Regions from separate parts of the Homo sapiens genome. Here regions 2, 3 and 4 are each linked to region 1. The links are contacts of gene promoters, found by promoter capture Hi-C in human tissues and cell types (Jung and others, 2019). All regions are on one chromosome and are shown on one strand. The core of a region is centred on a gene start or on the middle of the fragment in contact, and the rest is flanking DNA. Distances in the headings are between cores, read along the strand shown. Region 1 holds the start of ERLIN2 (ER lipid raft associated 2). Region 2 overlaps KCNU1 (potassium calcium-activated channel subfamily U member 1). Region 3 overlaps LOC105379377 (a long non-coding RNA gene). Region 4 has its middle 310 kb from the start of KCNU1.

Region 1 (4,703 bases), core at 1,035-3,534:
TTTTCTTGAAATGTTAATATTATTTTATTTTTAGAGACAGGGTCTTGCTCTGTCACCCAGGCTGGAGTGCAGTGGTGTGATCATAGCTCACTGCAGCCTCAAACTTCTGGGCTCAAGTGATCCTCCCACCTCAGCCCCCCAAATAACTGGGATTACAGGCACGTGCTGCCATGCTCGGCTAATTTTTTACTTTTTGTAGAGATGGGCTCTCACTATGTTGCTCAGGCTGGTCTCAATCTCCTGGGCTCAGGTGATCCTCCCATCTAAGCCTCCTGAGTAGCTAGGACTACGTGTGTGTGACACCACAGCCGGCCAATTAAAATTTTATTTTTTATTTTATTTTTTTAGAGATAGGGTCTCACTATGTGACCCAGGCTGGCTGAAATGTTAATTTTAAAAGAGCATCCCAAATTAGCAGAGTAGGCTACCTTCTCAAGTTGCCATCAAGAACTGGTACTCAGCTGGCTTTTGTAAAGGTAACCTAGCAGTGTAGAGCTAAGACTGCCAGAGGGATGTAGAGCTAAGACTGCCAGAGGGATGTAGAGCTAAGACTGCCAGAGGAATGTAGGAGAAAACAGTATTTTAGGGATGATCAATGAGGAGCACCAGTTTCCTTTAGATTTTGTCTCTAAATCTATATACACATTTATTAATCACCACCCATGGCATCATCTTGGACTACTAAGTGAAGTTCTAAATTTACATATATATGTGTGTGTGTGTATTCTCTTTCCCGTGGTTACTGACATAAAAAGCTCCATCTGAAAAGGCTCCCCTATTCAAGGAAATATAAATAGAGATGTTCAGCAGAATCTGCTAGGAAAGCAATGACCAGGAAAGGGAGCTATTTAACAGGAAGTTGCCGGCTTCTCCCTGTCTCTGCCTTACCTGTAATATACCCCAATATGTCCCTCTTCTATCTTGTGCACAGCTGAGAAGAGAGATGCACAAAAGAAACTGGAAGCCACAGCCACAACTGCTCCCAACTGAGCCATCAGTGAGCCTTTATCCTAGGGAAAAGACACGGGAAAATGTGTGTGGTCCAACGTGCAGGAGAAAAGGCCACAACAGCGAGAGGACCTCACCAAGCTGAGCTCCCTGCGAGTGACTCATATCCAGCCTGGTGTCGTGTGAACACAAGGCTAGATCTACAACTCGCTTCCTCCTCGTTCTCAGTCAACGTTCCCCTTTCTTTAACTGTAAAATTAGAGCCCCCACCGCACTGAGGAAGCACTGGCTCCGGATACAGCCGTTGCTCAAGGGAGAACCCGTGCCAGCTGGGTAGGGTTCAGAACACAGCCTTGTCTTCCTGTGAACACGAATGTGCTGTCACTGAACCTTTCCTACCAGTAGTAGGGAAGAGAGGCAGCTGCAGTACTTTGGCCCAAATTACAGAGGATGCCAAATGACAGGCAGTTGTGGCTATGTAATTCTGGTCAGAGTCTCCCACTCCTAATTGCCTGCAGTTTCAAAGGAAACCATTATTTACTCCTTTCAGATGCTGGAGTGGCAGAGCCAGCAGGCGAGCAGAGTTTCAAGGTAGGATTCGTTGGCCTCGCATCCACCTTCCCAGTTATTCCTTTGGCCCTAAACAGGACAGGGCTCTGAACAAGCCTGAAGCCACACTCCCCCCCATATACTTTGGCACTTTGCACCTGACAGATCCCCAAGCCCGTGGTCAGAGAGAAAGGCAATGTCCCAAACTGCGAGCCTCTAGGCTCCTAGGTCCAACCGCGTTCAGGCACCAGGACGCGGAGGAGTGGGATCCTGAACGCTGAATGATCTGGAACTATGGTGACTGACTGCAAAGTTCAGCTGTGCGTGCGTGGGCCCGTGAGCGCAGGGCGTGGATTCTGCCTCCCAGGTCTAACGTAACCGGGGCGCGGACATCTGCGAGGCGCTTATTTTACCGTGGCGGCCTCCGGCTACCGATCTGCAGTTGCGTCCTTTCCTGCCAGTGCCCTTCCCTCCCCGAGGTCACTCGCGCCCCTTCCCCGCCCCGTTCCGAGAGAGGGTCAAGCGCCCTGGTCTGGGGCTGCGGCTCCAATAGCCTCCGCTCGGTCCCCCTGCGGCTCGCAAGGAGAGGACGCGACAGAAAAGGGTTTCTGTCTCTCTCCAGGAGCGGGCCGGCTGAGGGAGAGAAGCTGCTGGGACTGAGGTTCCCGAAAGTGACGGGTCAGCCCCGACCCTGAGCGGCAGCTAGGCCCAGCGCGCGCACGAAGGGGCGGGGGCCGCGTACCAGGCTGTCCCTGCAGGCGCTCCGTACTCGTCCGAGCCCACGAGCAAGAAAACCGTCACACCCCTCAGCACGCGACTTCCTTCCGGGCCGTCGCTTCGATGACGCCATCAATTCACGCGAGAAGACCACACCCCCGCCCCGCGCTCGCTCTGCGCCCCGCCCCTCGCGCTCCCAGCGGTCAATGGCCGTAGCTGGCCGCCAGGGATCGCCCGCGACTTGGTCGGTGCGGTCCTGGACCTCGGTCTTGGGTATCCGTCCTGGGGCTGGGGATGAGGGCGGTGTTGGTGGGAGCTCCCCGAGAGCGAGCGGCAGGACGCGCATGCCCCGGAGTACTGAGACCCAGGGCGAACCTTTCCAAGGCGTTGACTTTGGGGATTGCTCCGGATTTCCTTCTGCATTAGGCCGAACCTGGTTCGTTTTGGTTTTTTTAGAGACAAGGTCTCGCTCTTTTGCCCAGGCTGGAGTGCAGTGGCACGATCATAGCTCACTACAGCCTCGAACTCCTGGGCTTAAGCGATCCTCCCACCTCACCCTGCTGAGTAGCTGGGACCACAGGCGCACGCCACGACACTTGACAATTTTATTTTTAGTAAAGACAGGGTCTTGGTATTTCTGGTCTCAAACTCTGGCTTCAAGCAATCCTCCTGCCTCGGCCTCCCAAACTGCTGGGATTACAGGCATGAGCCACCATGCGCGGCCTTTTTTTTTTTCTCTCCTTGATAAGGTACTGGCGAGTTGCAACTGTTTGCTTTCCTATAGCACAGCTGAAATGAAACAGTCTTTTCAATGTACAGATTAGCATCATTACCTCACCAATCAAAAATCCCTACCTTGAGTTGTTCTTTATATTTTTCTGGGAGCTTTGGCCCTTGGGATCCTGCAACGCCACAAAGTATATTAACAAGGAATTATTATTCTAATTTTAATGAACGGAATCTAAGAAGTTCAGCGAGGTTCAAGGGTAAAAGCCAAGGAAAGTTTCCTTTGTGTTTCCTTAATATCTTGAGTTCACTGCTTTTTAAACTCCTGCCACAGTGCACAGGGGCTAGTGCACTTCGTCTTTCTAGATAAACTGTACGTTCCCGGGAGAGCAGAGACTGACTTTCCTTCCGCACCCCCGGGGCTTAGGTGCCCAGTAAAAACAGACTGAAGGCAACGTGGGACCAGGCCCGGAATCCAGAGTTTGTGTCTCCTAGTCTAAGGGCCTCACGTTGTCCTCCACCTGCCCTATTCACCAGCATCACATTGGGGCATTTCTAATTCAGCCACTGAGGTTATTAATATTTTGTTTGCAGGAGAGAAAGAGTCCACTTAATTATAGCCTTCAGTAAAAGAAAAACTTTTACACCGGGAAGATGGCAAGCTGGTGGTGTTAGACAGATTTAAGACTCAGGAAAAGGGAAGTGTGGTTTTTTCCAGGCATGCCTGCTTGGGATTGGCCCGTTTACCTTTCCTGCGTTTGCTCTGGGTGTTGGGATGTTTCAGCATTACATGGTGAAACCCATACGAGGGTTACATGGTGCTGTCTGGGAGCTCTGTGCCCATCTCCATAAATGAAGGCCTTTCATCTCCCTACTCTGTCCCTGCATCCCCCACCCCAAACAGACACAGCTGGCCAATCTCTCGATCAATCCTATCAGAACTTGAGTTTTTTCTCTCCCTGTTCAGTGATATAACCTCAGCTGGGCATGCTTATTTAATAGTTTATTTAATAATTGAGTAAGAAAAATGGAAATATTAGGGTTCATCAACCCATGAAATGGGGGCTAGCCTGCAGCATCAAGTATTTAAATTACTTGTAATTTAAGAATTTCCTTTAACCAACCTCTGGCAACCCGTCTCCCCTCCCCTTCCCACAAATATGTATATTATTATGTGTCAATTAAAAATAATAAAAACACAAAAATTTCCTCACATTAAACTTTGGAGTGAATTGTGGCTAGAAGTTTTGGGATTTTGTTCTTAGGAGTCATTTTACCAGACCTGAGTTATTTAGTTGTGGACGTGCCTAAAGGCAGGGGGATGGACTTCGTGATGTGCTAGTACATGATGATCTAGTACTTCTGAAAATCTCTTTCTTAAGAGACCTGTGATTTTTATGTTACCCAGCAGATACATTTGTGATGATTTGTTTAACAAAAATGTTTACAATTTCTTTTTCTCCTTCCTTCCTTCCTTCCTTCCTTCCTTCCTTCCTTCCTTCCTTCCTTCCTTCCTGTCTCGCTCTGTCACCCAGGCTGGACTGCAGTGGCGCGATCTCAGCTCTGCAACCTTTGCCTCCCTTCAAGCGATTCTCCTGCCTCAGCCTCCCGAGTAGCTGGGGCTACAGACGCATGCCACCACGACTGGCTAATTTTTGTATTTTTAGTAGAGATGGGGTTTCACCACGTTGGTCAGGCTGGTATTGAACTCCTGACCTCAAGTGATCCACGTGCCTTGGGCTCCCAAAGTGCTGGGATTACAG
Region 2 (4,703 bases), core at 1,572-4,071, 840 kb after region 1:
ATATTTTATCTTTGAAAAAGTCTTTTCACACAGATAGGTACTATCAAATACCAATAGTGCTCCAAGAGCATAAGATTCTATAATAATTGAGTATATTTATTGCTTAGAAGGCATTTATAGAATTTTATTAGATTCTTCTTTTGATATTTGCCTTTTAGTATGTCATTATGTTGCAGATTAATCACTTGCAATGAAAGTTTAGGTAGAAACTTCTCAGTTGCATTGTTAAGTAAACTTTGAAATATAGAATTTTTTTAGCACTTGCATCAAGGTCTAAAATGACAATGCTGAAACTGAGATCAGAAAATATATCTACAGAAAATTTGTGTGGAAATAGTAATCTCATTTTTTATTTTAACTTTTGACAGCATGGGAAGTATATAAAGAAGAATGACATTAATTGTGATTCAAAGATTGATAATTGTCATTGTAATTATGATAGTATAAGTTTCACATGTTAGCTCTGCTTTGACTTTCAAGTTTAAATTTGTTAATAGAGATGATGAAACCTGCAGTGAATAATAAGTTTTGAAGTCATTTAGTGTTCGGAAATAGTGGTTGACAGCACAGTTCTTCTTATTCAGAAACATTTTAATCTTGATCCAGGTTTTTAAAATAACACAAAAGGCCAGGTACAGTGGCTCATGCTTGCAATCCCAGCACTTTGGGAGGCTGAGGGGGGCAGATTACTTAAGGCCAGGTGTTTGAGACCAGCCTGGACAACATGGTGAAACCCCATCTCTACTAAAAATATAAAAATTAGCTGGGCGTGGTGGTCAGTGCCTGTAATCCCAGTTACTTGGAAGTCTGAGGCAGAAGACTCACTTGAACTGGGGGGGCAGTGAGCTGAGATTGTGCCACTGCACCCACTCTGTCTGGGTGACAGAGTGAGATTCTGTTTCCAAAAAAAAAAAATCACAAAAAACTTTACTATTGTTAAGTTCTTAAACTGATGTGTAGTAGGGTAAGTCAGGATATTCAGATTTTATTTCTTACAAAACTTTATGGAACTAACAATGGCAAAGTTCATGAGAGCTAATAAAATTCACCATTGACACTTCTGGTTCAATAACTCATGATAAATTAATATATTATTCACAAAATACTTTCTGATGGATAACACAATAAGGACTATAGTCTTTATGCATTTTACATTTTACGAACTTTGTAAATTTGTCTAACTAGGACTGTTTCTGGTCTACATGTATTTTTGTATCATCTGTAATACATCTTAGCAGATTCCGCTTCAGATTATACTGAATTAATATTTTCTCAACTTCTTTGAATATATTTTCACAGGTAGTTGTGCCATGCAGACTATTCACAGAGGCCATTTAGGTACTTCAGACTCTGCCTTGACTCCTTGAATAAATAATAACTAAGCTGTATCAGTAACATATGTTAACATATTAAAAGCTGAGAGAAACCACTCACAACTATTTTCCTCATTTTTAAGTGATATTGATATTGCTTCTGATGTCTTCAATTCTTCCAGCAGTGATTTTTGCTGAAAGGTTAATAGTACTAGGTAGTTTTATTTTGTCTGGATACATTTTTTCATCTGCTGCAATCAAACACAATTTAATTGATTCACCATTAGTAAATGACTTCTCTTGCTTGGCTAACAAGTGAGTCACTCAGAAACAAACTTTGATTACAAATTCTGCTGTGCTAAGATGTTCTTTTAAAATTTTATAATTTTTCTAACCATGGCTTTACCATGAATTGAGAATATTGTGATAAGTGCCAAGTTTGATAATATCAACATATATTGTAGTCTTTTACCACAGTATACTTTCATTGAAATTAAGCACAATGCTTTTGTATGGCAAACCATATAAAAACAGGTAGTGAAGTGGATTTTGACTTCTAATCTAGAAAGCAGCCTGACATCATTTTAAAATAGCATTTGCATAGACCAAAGATATCACAAATACTCAGTGGCATTTGTTAATCGAAAATTTTTTCATGAATTATCTATATTTCTAACATTTTTGGATTTTTGGCTTGCAGATTAAAAGTGTCAAGTTAGAGATGAAGGAAGGCGTTGCTGCAAAGAGATGGTCTTAAACCAGGTTAAGGGACCATTACAAGTTTAATAGGAAGATGAAAAATAACTATAAAAAGTAACTACAAGGGACATTCTTCCAGAATGGCAGAGTTAGGGCCTTTGAATATTCACTATTCTACACAAGCAATGAGAATATTGACAAAAAAATTATCAAAATCAACATCTTCAGAGTTCTGGAAATAAACTGGAGACTTGAAACAATATGAGGAGTATTTGTTTAAGAAAAATGGTGAGATCTTGGTAAGAACAATAAGCTTCATGGCATTTTTGAGAAGTGCTATTCCCATTCCACTATCTTTAGTTCAACAGTAGCCATCAAGATCAGAAGCCTTACAATAACAGTAGCTCTGAAAACCAGCAGTCTAGCAGCCACCAGAGAGAAAAAATAGATCTGAAGCTGTTAAATATCCTTATTCACAGAATATGTTACTATTTGAGCTTTCTAGCAGCTCCCTGGAAGTGCACACTCACAGGGCTTATCTTTATTTGGCCTGGGAGTTTTCTCAGTGGAATTTTTCCGGAGGCATTTTAAAAAAATAATCAGCAGTAATTTTTTTAAATTGCAAATATCTGAGTTATAGTTAACAATGTCGCAAAAAAAAAAAAGACCCATAAAAATCTTCAAAAGAAAAAGCTGGAGAATTAGAAGTCTATAGAGAGGGCCAGATGTGGTGGCTCATGCCTGTAATCCCAGCACTTTGGGAGGCTGAAGCAGGTGGATCACCAGAGGCCAGGAGTTCAAGACTAACCTGGGCAACATGGCGAAACCTCATCTTTACAAAAAAAAAACAAAAAAAAACAAAAAGTAGCTAGGCATGGTGGCTCACACCTGTAATAACAGCTACTTGAGAGGCTGAGTCAGGAGAATTGCTTGATCCCAGGAGGCAGATGTTGCAGTGAGCTGAGATCATGCCACTGCATGCTGTCCTGGGTGACAAAGCAAGACTCTGTCTCAAATAAAACAAAAGAAAATAACAGACTTCTATAGAGGGTATTAAAAGGTTTTGAAACATTCACTGTAGGAAACTGAATAAAAATAAAACCATGTGCATGTGCAGAGTTGTAAATACACCCAGGGGAAAAAAAACCTGAGGTATTCCTAATCTCTTCTGGCTGATCTTGAGACTGCACAAACCAAAAATGAAGGCTTAGGCAAAGATGTAAACTGCTAAAGTGTCAAAGGAATTACCTCAACATGCACACAGAATCCCTTGGCAAATATAAGAAGACTTATCAGTTCAAGGCATTTAAGGAAATCTCAGTGCAATCATTAGCTGATCATAAAGCTGAGTAGAGATTTAAGTGTCAATATACAATAAACCATAGCAAAATAGTTTGTAGAGTTGTCATATAATATTATTTAAAATGCCTGGCTTTCAACAAAAAATTATGAGACACAAAGACACAGTAAGTATGGACCATACCTGGTGGGGGGTGGGGGGTGGGAACACCAATAGAAACTGTCCGGAAGGAAGCCCAGACTTTCTAGGCAAAGATTTTATAAGAGCCATTATAAATATATTTAAAGGACTAACTGAAACCATTTTTAAAGAACTAAAGAAAAGTATGAGAACAATATAGCACTGAATACAAAATATCAGTGAGGAGATAGATTATAAGAAAAAAACAAATGGAAATTCTGGAGTTAAGAAGTACAATAACTGAAAAGAAAATTTTAGTGAAGGAGCTCAGCAGCAGATCTGAGTTGGCAGAAGAAGGAATAAATGAGCTTGAATATAAGTCAATGGAGATAATGCAGTCAGAAAAATAGAAATAAAAACCTATTGAAGAAATATACACAGAAGCTTCAGAAAACTGTGGGACATCATCAAGTGTATCAACATACACAAAATGGGAGTTTCAGAAATGGGGGAGAGAGAGAAAGAAGAAAGAGTACTTAGATAATGGACACAAATTTTACATATTTAATGAAAACATTAACTTACATATCTAAGCAGCTAAAGGAAGTTTAAAGTAGAGTAATCTCAAAGAGATTCAGACCTGGATATACCATAATCAAATTGTTCAGAGCCAAGGGCAAAGAGGAATCTTGAAAGCAGCAAGTAAAAAGCAACTCAGCATCTACAAGGGATCCTTAATAAGATTAACAGCTAATTTCTCATCAGAAACCATGAAAGCCAGAAGGCAGTGGAAGAACATATATAAAGTTCTCAAAAAAAAGGCTTATCAGTTAAGAATTCTATATCCAACAAAGTATTATTCAAAAATGATGAAGAAATGGAGACATTTTCAGATGAAGAAAAATGGCCAGAATTGTTGTTTGCAAACTTTTATTACAAACGATACTAAAGAGTATTACAATTCCTTTAGGCTGAAATGAAAGGATGACAAACATTAACTTGCATCCACATTAAGAAACAGAGTGTCAGTAAAATTAATTACATAGGTAAATAGGAAAGATAGTATTATCTCTCTATGCATCAGTCCATCCATCCATCCATTCTTCCAAGCATCCATCCATCCATCCTTTTGTATTATCTTGTCTGACTTAAAATACAAGTTTGCAAAGCAGTTATAGGATTGTGTTGATGAACCTATAATATTATAAAGATGTAATTTGTATGATAATCATAGCATAAAGTTGGGCAAAGAAATGGAGCTACATAGAAGT
Region 3 (4,703 bases), core at 1,563-4,062, 670 kb after region 1:
TGTGCCCCTGGCTTTGTTGCCCAGATCCTCACCACAATCCCAGCATCCCACCACTCTACTGCGAGAAGAGACAAGGGAGGAGATGCACACCTCAGAGAAGGAGCAGATTTCATTCAAAGTCCGAGGGAGGCCAGGGCTCCTGGTCCTGGACTTCGTGTCAATTGGTTCTTCCTGGAAAAGACAATTGGAGGCACCTTCACCTTGTTTTTACTATATGGGTCGCGTGGCAGTGCTGGAGAAAAAGACAATCCCCAAAGAGCACATTGTCCTAAAGGAAGAGTCAACACCTGCTAACAGTTTATCTTGTCATACTAAGCCTCAAGCCCTGAGCACCATTGCTCAGCTGCACTCACGGTCTTGGTACTGTTGCCTGGTGTAACTACACAACCTCTGGGCTGATGACGCAAAAACACGTGATATGTAATAGCTCATTTAATTCTCGCAACTGTAATTATCCCCATTTCATGACTTCCATTTGACGGAAAGATTAAGCGGCTAATCCTCCAACACAATTTAAGTGGCTTGTTCCATAACTAGTGAAGAGATTGAAAATTTGAACTCCTCTGCCGAGCTCCGGAACCTGTGCTCCTAAGGGAGGAATGGGCTGGAGCTCCCCACAGTGGTCATCATGTAAACCCAACACTTCCTACATTCATTGATTTCTGCCTAATTTACATTCCTCTTTTGTTAGTTGCTCACAAGTCCCTCCTCCATCCTCTTCTTCCCAAGCCCTGGTCATTAAAATCAAAGTCTTAAATCTCAGATACCACTCTCCCTGCACCTAGGCCCTTATTTTCATCCGTATCCAGAGAGTCTTAACCTCTTGTCTTACGTTTGTCTAACTTGAACCTGTACGACCTATTCCTTGAGACTCTATATTTTAAAAACCTGCACAGATCTTATCAAAAAATTATTTGTACCTCTGCTTCTACCATTAGGTGACCATTGCCTTTTCTCTGAAGACACCATTTCTCTTGTAATCTTCTCAACGTATCTTTCTCTTATTCCTGTCCCTTAACTGAACGAAAGTGGGATCGGCTTTTCCGTTCTCTCCAGTACTTCTCTCGACCACTGTTTTGTGATTATTATCCAAGAGCTTTGCTGGTGTTGGACTCCATATAGCACTGTTTCTAACACTTTCTTGCTTTCCTGAGTGACCCCAGCATCTGGCTCACAGCCTTCCCTTTCCTTGCTAAAGTCCGAGCGACTCCGACATCAAAATTGATCATCTTCCCAACTGTGTACTCAGGCAGTGTTCAAGTTCCACTTCCCGAGGGAGTTCTGTCTTGCTTCCATGGAGCTGTCCACCTGGTTGTCTCATTTTTAAACAGCTTTATTAAGAAATCATCGACATACAAAAATGTATACATTTAAGATGTGCAACTTGATGTTTTAGTATACGTTATTAAATTATCACCACAATCAAGCTAATTAAACATATCCATTACCTCTGCATAGTTGCAATTGTTTATGTGCGTGTGTGTGTGTGTGTGTGTGTGTAGTGAGAAGATTTAAGATGTGTCCTCTCAGCAAATTACTAGTATACAATACAGTTTTGTTAATTAACATGACCATGCTGTACATAAGGTCTCTAGAAATTATTCATATTTCATAACTGAATCTTTGTATCTTTTGGCCAGTATCACCCTATTTCTTCCTTGACCAGGCCCTGGAAACCACTATCCTACTATCTGCTTCTATAAATTTGACTATTTTCAATTTCACATATAAATGAGATCATGCAGGATTTCTGTTTCTGTGTCTTGTTTGTTTCACCTAGCATAATGTCTTCCAGCTTCATCATGTTGTGGCTAACAGCAGGATTTCCTTCTTTTTTAATAGTATTCTGTTATACACACACATGCGCGCGCGCACACACACACCCACACACACACACCACATTTTCTTTATCCATTCATCTGTTGAAAAACATTTAGGCCATTTCCATAGCTTAGCTTTGTGAATAATCCTGTAATGAACATGATAGTGCAGAGAACTCTTCACAATCCTGATTTCGATTGCTTTAGATACCAAGAACTAGGATTGCTGGATCATGTTAGTTCTATTTTTAAGTTTTTGGAGAACCTTCATACCATTTTCCATAATGGTTTTACTAATTTACATTCTCATCAGCAGTGTATAAGGGTTCTCTTTTCTCCACAGGAAAACAGTCCCATTTACATTAGCAACAAAATAAATAAATAAATAAAATACTTAGAAATTAACTTAACCAAAGAAGTAAAGGACTTATATACTGAAGCTTACAAAGCATTCATGAAGGAAATTTAAAAAGATACAAATAAATGAGAAGATACAAATCCTATGTACCTGGATTGGAGGAATTAATATTGTAAAAATGTCCATACTACCCAAAATGATCTACATATTCAACACAATCTCTATCAAAATCCCAAAGGCACTTTTTAAGAAATAGAAAAAATATTCTTAAATTCCTATGGAATCAAAAGGACCCTGAATAACCAATCTTGAAAAAGAAGAACAAAGCTGAAGGCATCACACTTCCTGACTTCAAATTATATTACAAAGACATAATAAAAAGTACAGTACTTGCATAAAGACAGATGTATATACCATTGGAACAGAATAGACAACCCAGAAATAAACCCATGCATCCAAAGATGCCAAAAAATACATAATGGGGAGAGGATAGTCTCTTCAACAAATGTTGTTAAGAAAACTAGATACCAATATACAAAAGAATGAAACTGAACCCCTATCTCACACCATACACAAAAATCCTCATAGTCTTCACATTGAGTAGGCTGAGGAAGAGGATGAAGCGGAGGGGTTGGTCTTGTCATCTGGGGGCAGGGCAGAGGTAGAAAGAAATCTCTGTATAAGTGAACTTGCACAGTTCAAACTCATGTTGCTCAAGTGTCGGCTGTGTTTGGTTCTACCTTGCATTATAATAAGGTCTTATCTCATTACCAGACCATGTGCTCTAGAGGAAGAGTAGGCTGAAGCTGCTGCCGTTCATTGTATCTCCTGAAACATGTAGCACAAAGTCTTGTGCAAAACTGGAATACAAGACATACACTTTGTTAAATGGAATCATTGTTTTATTGCCATTTCTTATCTTTCCAATTGTACTTAAATTCAGGAAGTGTAAGGCATTCCTAACAAAGTGCCTTACATTTGACATTAATAAGGGTTTGTTGCTTGGTTTATTGGCTTATTGAGCAAGAGAGAGCTAGGTATAAGGATAGTGGAAGACACTCAGGTTCCTGTTTTGAAACTACCACTTACTTGTTGTGGGACCCCAGGCAAGTCACTGCACATATTTAAGCTTCAGTTTGATCATGTAGAAAAGGAGGGTTAAACTAAATGACTTCCACATGAGTTTCTGGTTCCAAGAAATTTTTCTAAGCCTTGCTGACTCCTTCAGGATTCAACCCAGGCTGAGTTGGAAGCAAAATAATTCAGAGGACCAAGTGTGCCAGGCTAGCATAAAGAAGTTAAGAGAGAAATATAAGTTTTGTTATGTTGAAATGCCGAATTATAAGAGATAGAGAATAAAAAAGAAAAAAGGAGAGAGAGAGATCCTGGATACTGGGGAAAGAAGGTGAGCTCAGACAGAAGGGTGAGAACTGAAGCACAAGAAAGCTGATAAAGCAGTGGTTCTCAATGTGGGACAAGATGGAGAAGAGCTGCCACTCCTAGGGGAGGTGGGATTTCACCCATCATTGTAATTGGCATTTAGTAGGTGGGGCCAAGGGGAGCAGACGTCTTGCAATACACTGGTCAGTTCCATACATCAAAAAGTTATCCCATTTCACATGTAATTTTCAAATGTTTCACTGGACATACAGTTGGGTGAAAGACCTATTTGGAATAATCTAAGCCTAAATCTATATTGTGTGTAAATTCAAAAACATTTTTGCACTGTCTGAATACTCCCTGAACCTTTCAGTAAAGCATCAATTCTGTAAATTGACAGAAAATAGGATGGCATTATATTGGTACAAAGCACACAGATGCTAAGGAATGGATATAAATAGATATCAAAGTGACTTGCTAGAGATCTCATCTCTAGGACGTGGTGACACTGGACTCTCTGCTCAATCACACATTCTTGCTGTGTCACTCAAGCTGGAAGGATGGCATCATATGGCACTTCTCCAAGAGTTGTTCATTATTTTAGAAAATATATCACTAACAGAGATGCGACTGTGTTATTTTAAATCACAATAAATATATCAGCATCAGTGTTCATTTGTGGCTGGTACATTCCTGGTGGCTGCACACAGAGGAGAAGGTATTTGGGTACTGCTGCCTCCCAGGGAAGTCATGCTTGAGTATCGACATATTGCAACCCTCTCCTTGAATTTCCCCATTATATGATTAAAAATAGAGTGCTACATGACTTTTAAAATTATGTGTTTAGGTAGATTACAACTTTGCGGGGTTTTTTGTTTTGTTTTTAGAGACAGGGTCTTGCTCTGTCACCCAGGCTGGAGTGCAGTGGCATGATTATAGCTCACTGCAGCCTTGACCTCCTGGCCTCAAGTGATCCTCCTCCCTCAGCCTCTCGAGTAGCTGGGACTACAGGCATATGCCACCATGCTTGGCTAATTAAAAAAATTTTTTTTTTGGTAGAGACAGGGTCTTGCTATGTTACCCAGGCTGATCTCAAATACTTGACTTTAAGTGATCCTCCTGCCTCAGCCTCCCAAAGTGCTGGG
Region 4 (4,703 bases), core at 1,618-4,117, 640 kb after region 1:
AAAGAGAGAGAGGGAGAAAGTAAGGAAGAGGGAGAGAGAGAGAGAGAGAGAGAGAGGATGAGAATCCTCTGAGTCTGCAATCTTCAGGCATCCTGCAGCTGCGCTAGAGGTCAGTTACATGCCTTTGAAAAGCTCACTGCCTCCAGCTGCTCTCTGATGAGACAAGCACTTTTCCTCTTGCGCTAATAAATGCCACAACTCGGCTCATGGGGCTCAACACATGGCCTCCAAGAGTGGCAGACCTTACGGGGCTTAATTTAGAGAGCTGGGGAGCTCCTTGTAAACAACATCTAGGAGGAGCTAAGGGCCCTAGGAGGGAGGAACAGGCAGGGACGGGAGGGAAGAGGGGAAACGAGTCTGGGAAGGGCTACAGCGCCTCCAAGCCAGGGCTCAGCTCTGGGTGCTCCAGGACCCAGCGCGGGGAATCTTGATGAATCCCTGAAAGGAAGACGAGAGCCTCTGCAGGCACCAGGCTCATCAATCTCCCTCTTTTGGACAGGGCTGCTTCTTGCACTTATTTATTTTTTTAGCAGAGTTCCTAATATTGAAAGGAATGCCAGTTTGGGGAGGATGCACACAAGACCCTTGTTTTCCCCTCCCTGGCAATGCTGGAATCCTCAAGTCTGTCTGTATTGCCACAATTTTGTGATCATGGGCTCATGGGGCTAGACTGGAAAAATGCAGCCTGAACTGATGGGGCTGATGGGGTGGGAGGTGGTGAGAGAGGCAGGAAGGAGGAGAAAGAGAGGGCCAGGCTCCACTCAGCCAATCTGAAGATCAGATCTTAAACTGTCATGGGAAACAATACTAAGGAGAGCCCTGCCTGGTCCTCTGTGATGCCTGCAATATTTGGGATGCACTGGGTCAGGGCCTAGGAGCTGGAAAACCGGGCTGTTCATTTACTTCCCTCCAAAAATAGAGTTCTGTTTGACTAAAGACTCCTATAAGAGTTACATGGCCAGGGCTTTGATGCCGCTCCTGTTAACATTTGTAAGTGCTTCCTGCCTAGGCTTTATAATCATAAAACAATCATAATGTCTGATGACTGTCTAATGTTTTTTGGTTACAAAGATCTGTGCAAATCCTAGGTCTCTCCCGGCAGAGTCTTGATTGTTTTTCATGACACACCTTCCTAGGGTACAGCAGAATACTAGAGCTTAGCCTATTCAAAACTCCCCAAATCTCAGATAGGGAAAGGTAGGCCAGAAAGGTTCAATGATTCATGGTATATCATTAAATTGATGATAAGGAAAAAAAATGCCTATGGAATTCCCTACCCTGGGTGCCTCAAAGGGCATTGCTTGTCTTTAAATTCCACGGCTTCGATATTGGTGGTTCGGAGATGTGGGATGACTTAGTCTTGTGTCTAACGCTACTCAAATGCACAGGTATGATGTAAGGTTGAACATTTTTTTAGAACAAAGACTTAGTTAGCATTATCTATCTAATAGCTGCCAGGAAAGAAGGATGGTAACCTGGTCTATGCTTCAAGAAAACTAAGGAAGACTTACAATATAACTAATCTCTGTGGAAGTGCTTTCCTTGCTACTTACCAGCTGTGGACCCTGAGTTAGTTACCCGATTGCTCTGTGTGTCTGTTTTCTCATCTGTAAAAGGGGAATGACAGTCATTCTACCTTGTAAGTTGATGTGAGGATCAAATGAGTTTTGTGACCAATGCTTGCTATGTAGTCTATCAAAATGTTGTTACCATTCTTCTGTAGTTGACAACCTTGTGCTTCGTTCATCATGACCATGACCTCCCTATTGGCTCCATGGGTTGAAAATGTTTAGAGCAAAGCTGTAGAGCACGCTGTGGCTCTTACTCTATGGCTAAGAGCTGATAGGAGGAGGTCTCTACGAAACTGGTGAGAAGGCTAGGGGTGCTGGCCCAGGCTACCCAGGCCACCTTGCCTCCACACTCTGGCTGGTGCTATAGGGTTACGTCCCAGGATGTCATCCTCTTTTCCAGAGTAGCCTCAGCGGAGCACCCTGCTTCTTCCCCTCTACAGGCCATCTCAATAAAGATTGGGTGTTCAGCTTTCAAACAATATTCTGCTTCTGTGTAGTACTTTCACCTTTTTCAAGCACCTTCTCATACATTATCTTTTTGTTTCATGTGCATTTTGATGAATGTAGGACAGTCATTCTTCTCTTTCACTTTCCTGTGAGCCAGATTTAATGAGGGAGTTTCTGGATTATCTTGGTTAGTTGGAGGCATCTGCCTAACTTATCTATGACTTATTTTTCCTGCTACCAGATTGTTCCAAATGATTGTGCTGGCTGTGAGTTTAGAAGATCTGGCCTTTTGCAGAAGTTCTGCTGTTGTCTTTTCAGCTTCTGGGTAAGGGCAAGGCCATTGGGGTTGCTCTCTCCTAATGAGAAGTGAGTGTGAACACCAATGGATTCTGGAGAGATGAAGCTTCTCTTTGGGGCTCACAGTCCCAGACAATCCATACCTGTTCCTTCTTCAATTTGCTCAATATAGCATTGAGCATTTCAACAGCTTCTGTGCCTGTACTATAAACGTGTGTAAATACTGACAGACATACACGTGCCTGCACAAACCTGTATCCATAGTCACAGATTCTATCACACACTCACAGACACATGTACTCACAGATGTAAATACACAGTGTTATGACACAGTTGCATACTGTCACACCCATAGAGTCACACACAGAGGCACACAGGCCGAGGCACGCATACATCCACACGCAGTCACATATACAAACACAAAGGCACAATGATTCTCTCTCTCTCCTTTCTCTCTCTCTCTGTTTTACATGCACTCTCTCTCTCTCTCTCTCTCTCTTAGAAAAAGTACCAACCCAGAAAAGAAATGCAGCAGAGACGTTTGTAGCATTGCATACCCAGCTGGGTCTTGGGAAAGAGTCTCCTCCCCAGCGCATCATGGAGGGATGAGCTTTTGAGAGCAGGTGCTGGGTACCATCCCAAATCTTTTGCCGAGATTCCTAGTGCCACAGCTAATCTACACTCTGGATGTTTGCTGACTACCCTGATCCTCAGGAGGCAGGTGTTCAACCCAGGGGCCAAAGTTGAAATTGTCGGGAGACGTAGTGTTAAGAGTTGAATTGTTTCCTCCCTCCTGCCAAAGATATGTTAAAATTCTAATCCTCAGTACCTCAGAGGTTACTTTATTTGGAAATAGGCTCATTGCAGGTGGAATTACAGGCATACCTCAGAGATATTGTGGCTTCAGTTCCAGACCACCATAATAAAGCAAATGTTGCAATAAATTGAGTCACACAAATTGTTTAGGGTGGTGGTTGCTGAAGGTTGGGGTGGCTGTGACAATTTCTTACAATTTTTAAGTTTCTTAAAATAAGACAACAATGAAGCTTGCCACACCAATTGACTCTCATTTTCTGGAAAGATTTCTCTGTAGTATGTCATGCTGTTTGATAGCATTTAACCCACAGTATAACTTCCTTATAAATTGGAGTCAATTTTCTCAAACGCTGCTGCTGTTTTATCAACTAAGTGTATATAATATTCTGAATTGTTTGTCTTTTCAATAATGTTCGTAGCATCTTCACCAGGAGTAGATCTCATCTCAAGAAACCGCTTTCTTTGCTCATCCATAAATTAATCATCTGTTCAAGTTTTATCATGAGATTGCAACAATTCCATCATGTCTCACTGAGTTAGGCTCCACTTCTAGTTCTCTTGCTGTTTCCACCACATCGGTAGTGACTTCTTCCGTTGAAGCCTTGAACCTCTCAATGTCATCCATGAGGACTGGAATCAACTTCTTCCAGACTCCTGTTAATGAGAATATTTTGACCTCCTCCCATTAATCATGAATGTTCTTTTTTTTTTAATCAAAAACATTTTTTCATTTAAAAAACTATTTACAACACATAAAACAAGGCAAGATTTACTCTTTTTTTCTCATCTTCTGGTATGGGATCTTTTGGTGGCTCCTGCACTATTGTGCTGTTGCTGTCCGATCCAATGTTACTATCACTGGTTCCTTCCTCTGCCATACTGTCTACCCACTCCTGCCCACTCTCCTTGTCCTCAGGAGTAGACGTGCCTTCTTCACTGTTCTGTTGGCTCTCTGTCATTTCTTCAAAGCGTGCCTCCTCCATCTCCATTGGAATGTTCTTGTCATCTTTCTTCTCCTCGCCTTTGCTGGCTGCTTGCTTTTCCTTAGGAACAATGCTGCTCTGTGCTCAGCTTGCTCTGCTGCCTCCTTCTCCCTTTTCTCCTGCCTTTTGCGGGCCTGTTCCTCTGCCTGTGCAATCTCACCTGCAATTTTCTTCATATCCACTTCTACTTTCAGACCACACAAACTTTTAAGTTCATCATTAAATGAATCTGTGCTTTCCAAGTATTTCCTCCTCTTCTCCTGGTGTCATTTCCTCTATCTGAAGAAGTTCAGCTTCTAGTTTTCGCTGATGAATAATTAAGGACTGGACCTGTCATTTGATGATCCACATTCTAGCTGTTGTGACAACTGACCGAACGTCTGGCACCACACTCTCACTAAGGATTTCACTGATGAGGCAGTGGTTTCTCTGGAAATGGGCGGTGGCTGTATGCTTCATTGAAAAGCCATCGTCATAATCATCTGGATCTTCAGGAGGCTAAATGTTCATGTACGGTTCTCCTTTCTCCACGCAAGACTGTCTCTGTCAACTTTCTTCCTCTAAAGCAGCTTCTGCACGACTTTTTGCA

What was found. The method cuts DNA at HindIII sites, captures the fragments that hold promoters and counts their contacts. A contact is called where the count stands out against the background at its distance.
Region 2: a fragment that was not itself captured here is called in contact with the fragment with the promoter of ERLIN2 in region 1 in 2 of the 25 tissues and cell types used here (IMR-90 fibroblasts and dorsolateral prefrontal cortex).
Region 3: a fragment that was not itself captured here is called in contact with the fragment with the promoter of ERLIN2 in region 1 in 1 of the 25 tissues and cell types used here (IMR-90 fibroblasts).
Region 4: a contact is called between a fragment that was not itself captured here and the fragment with the promoter of ERLIN2 in region 1, in 1 of the 25 tissues and cell types used here (IMR-90 fibroblasts).

Annotation. Positions count from the first base shown.
Region 1 is chr8:37,734,215-37,738,917 of GRCh38, reverse strand. It overlaps ERLIN2 (ER lipid raft associated 2), which reads right to left and starts at 2,284. Exons shown (of 12, transcript NM_007175.8): 1 at 2,240-2,284; 2 at 889-1,010. The coding sequence starts at 995. LOC102723701 (a long non-coding RNA gene) reads left to right here and starts at 1,492. Exons shown (of 2, transcript NR_125821.1): 1 at 1,492-1,539; 2 at 2,120-4,157. RefSeq lists enhancers at 930-1,722, 2,202-2,411. The HindIII fragment of the contact is 16,352 bases long and covers 1-4,703 here.
Region 2 is chr8:36,891,302-36,896,004 of GRCh38, reverse strand. All of the region lies in intron 19 of KCNU1 (potassium calcium-activated channel subfamily U member 1), which reads right to left. The region is part of intron 2 of LOC105379375 (a long non-coding RNA gene); the gene reads left to right. Among named protein-coding and RNA genes, the nearest start is that of KCNU1, 110 kb to the right of the region's middle. The HindIII fragment of the contact is 6,473 bases long and covers 1-4,703 here.
Region 3 is chr8:37,062,843-37,067,545 of GRCh38, reverse strand. LOC105379377 (a long non-coding RNA gene) reads left to right here. Exons shown (of 7, transcript XR_949675.4): 7 at 1-1,747. Among named protein-coding and RNA genes, the nearest start is that of KCNU1, 280 kb to the right of the region's middle. The HindIII fragment of the contact is 4,005 bases long and covers 810-4,703 here.
Region 4 is chr8:37,095,576-37,100,278 of GRCh38, reverse strand. It overlaps the pseudogene SMARCE1P4. Among named protein-coding and RNA genes, the nearest start is that of KCNU1, 310 kb to the right of the region's middle. RefSeq lists enhancers at 1-148, 149-812. The HindIII fragment of the contact is 3,893 bases long and covers 921-4,703 here.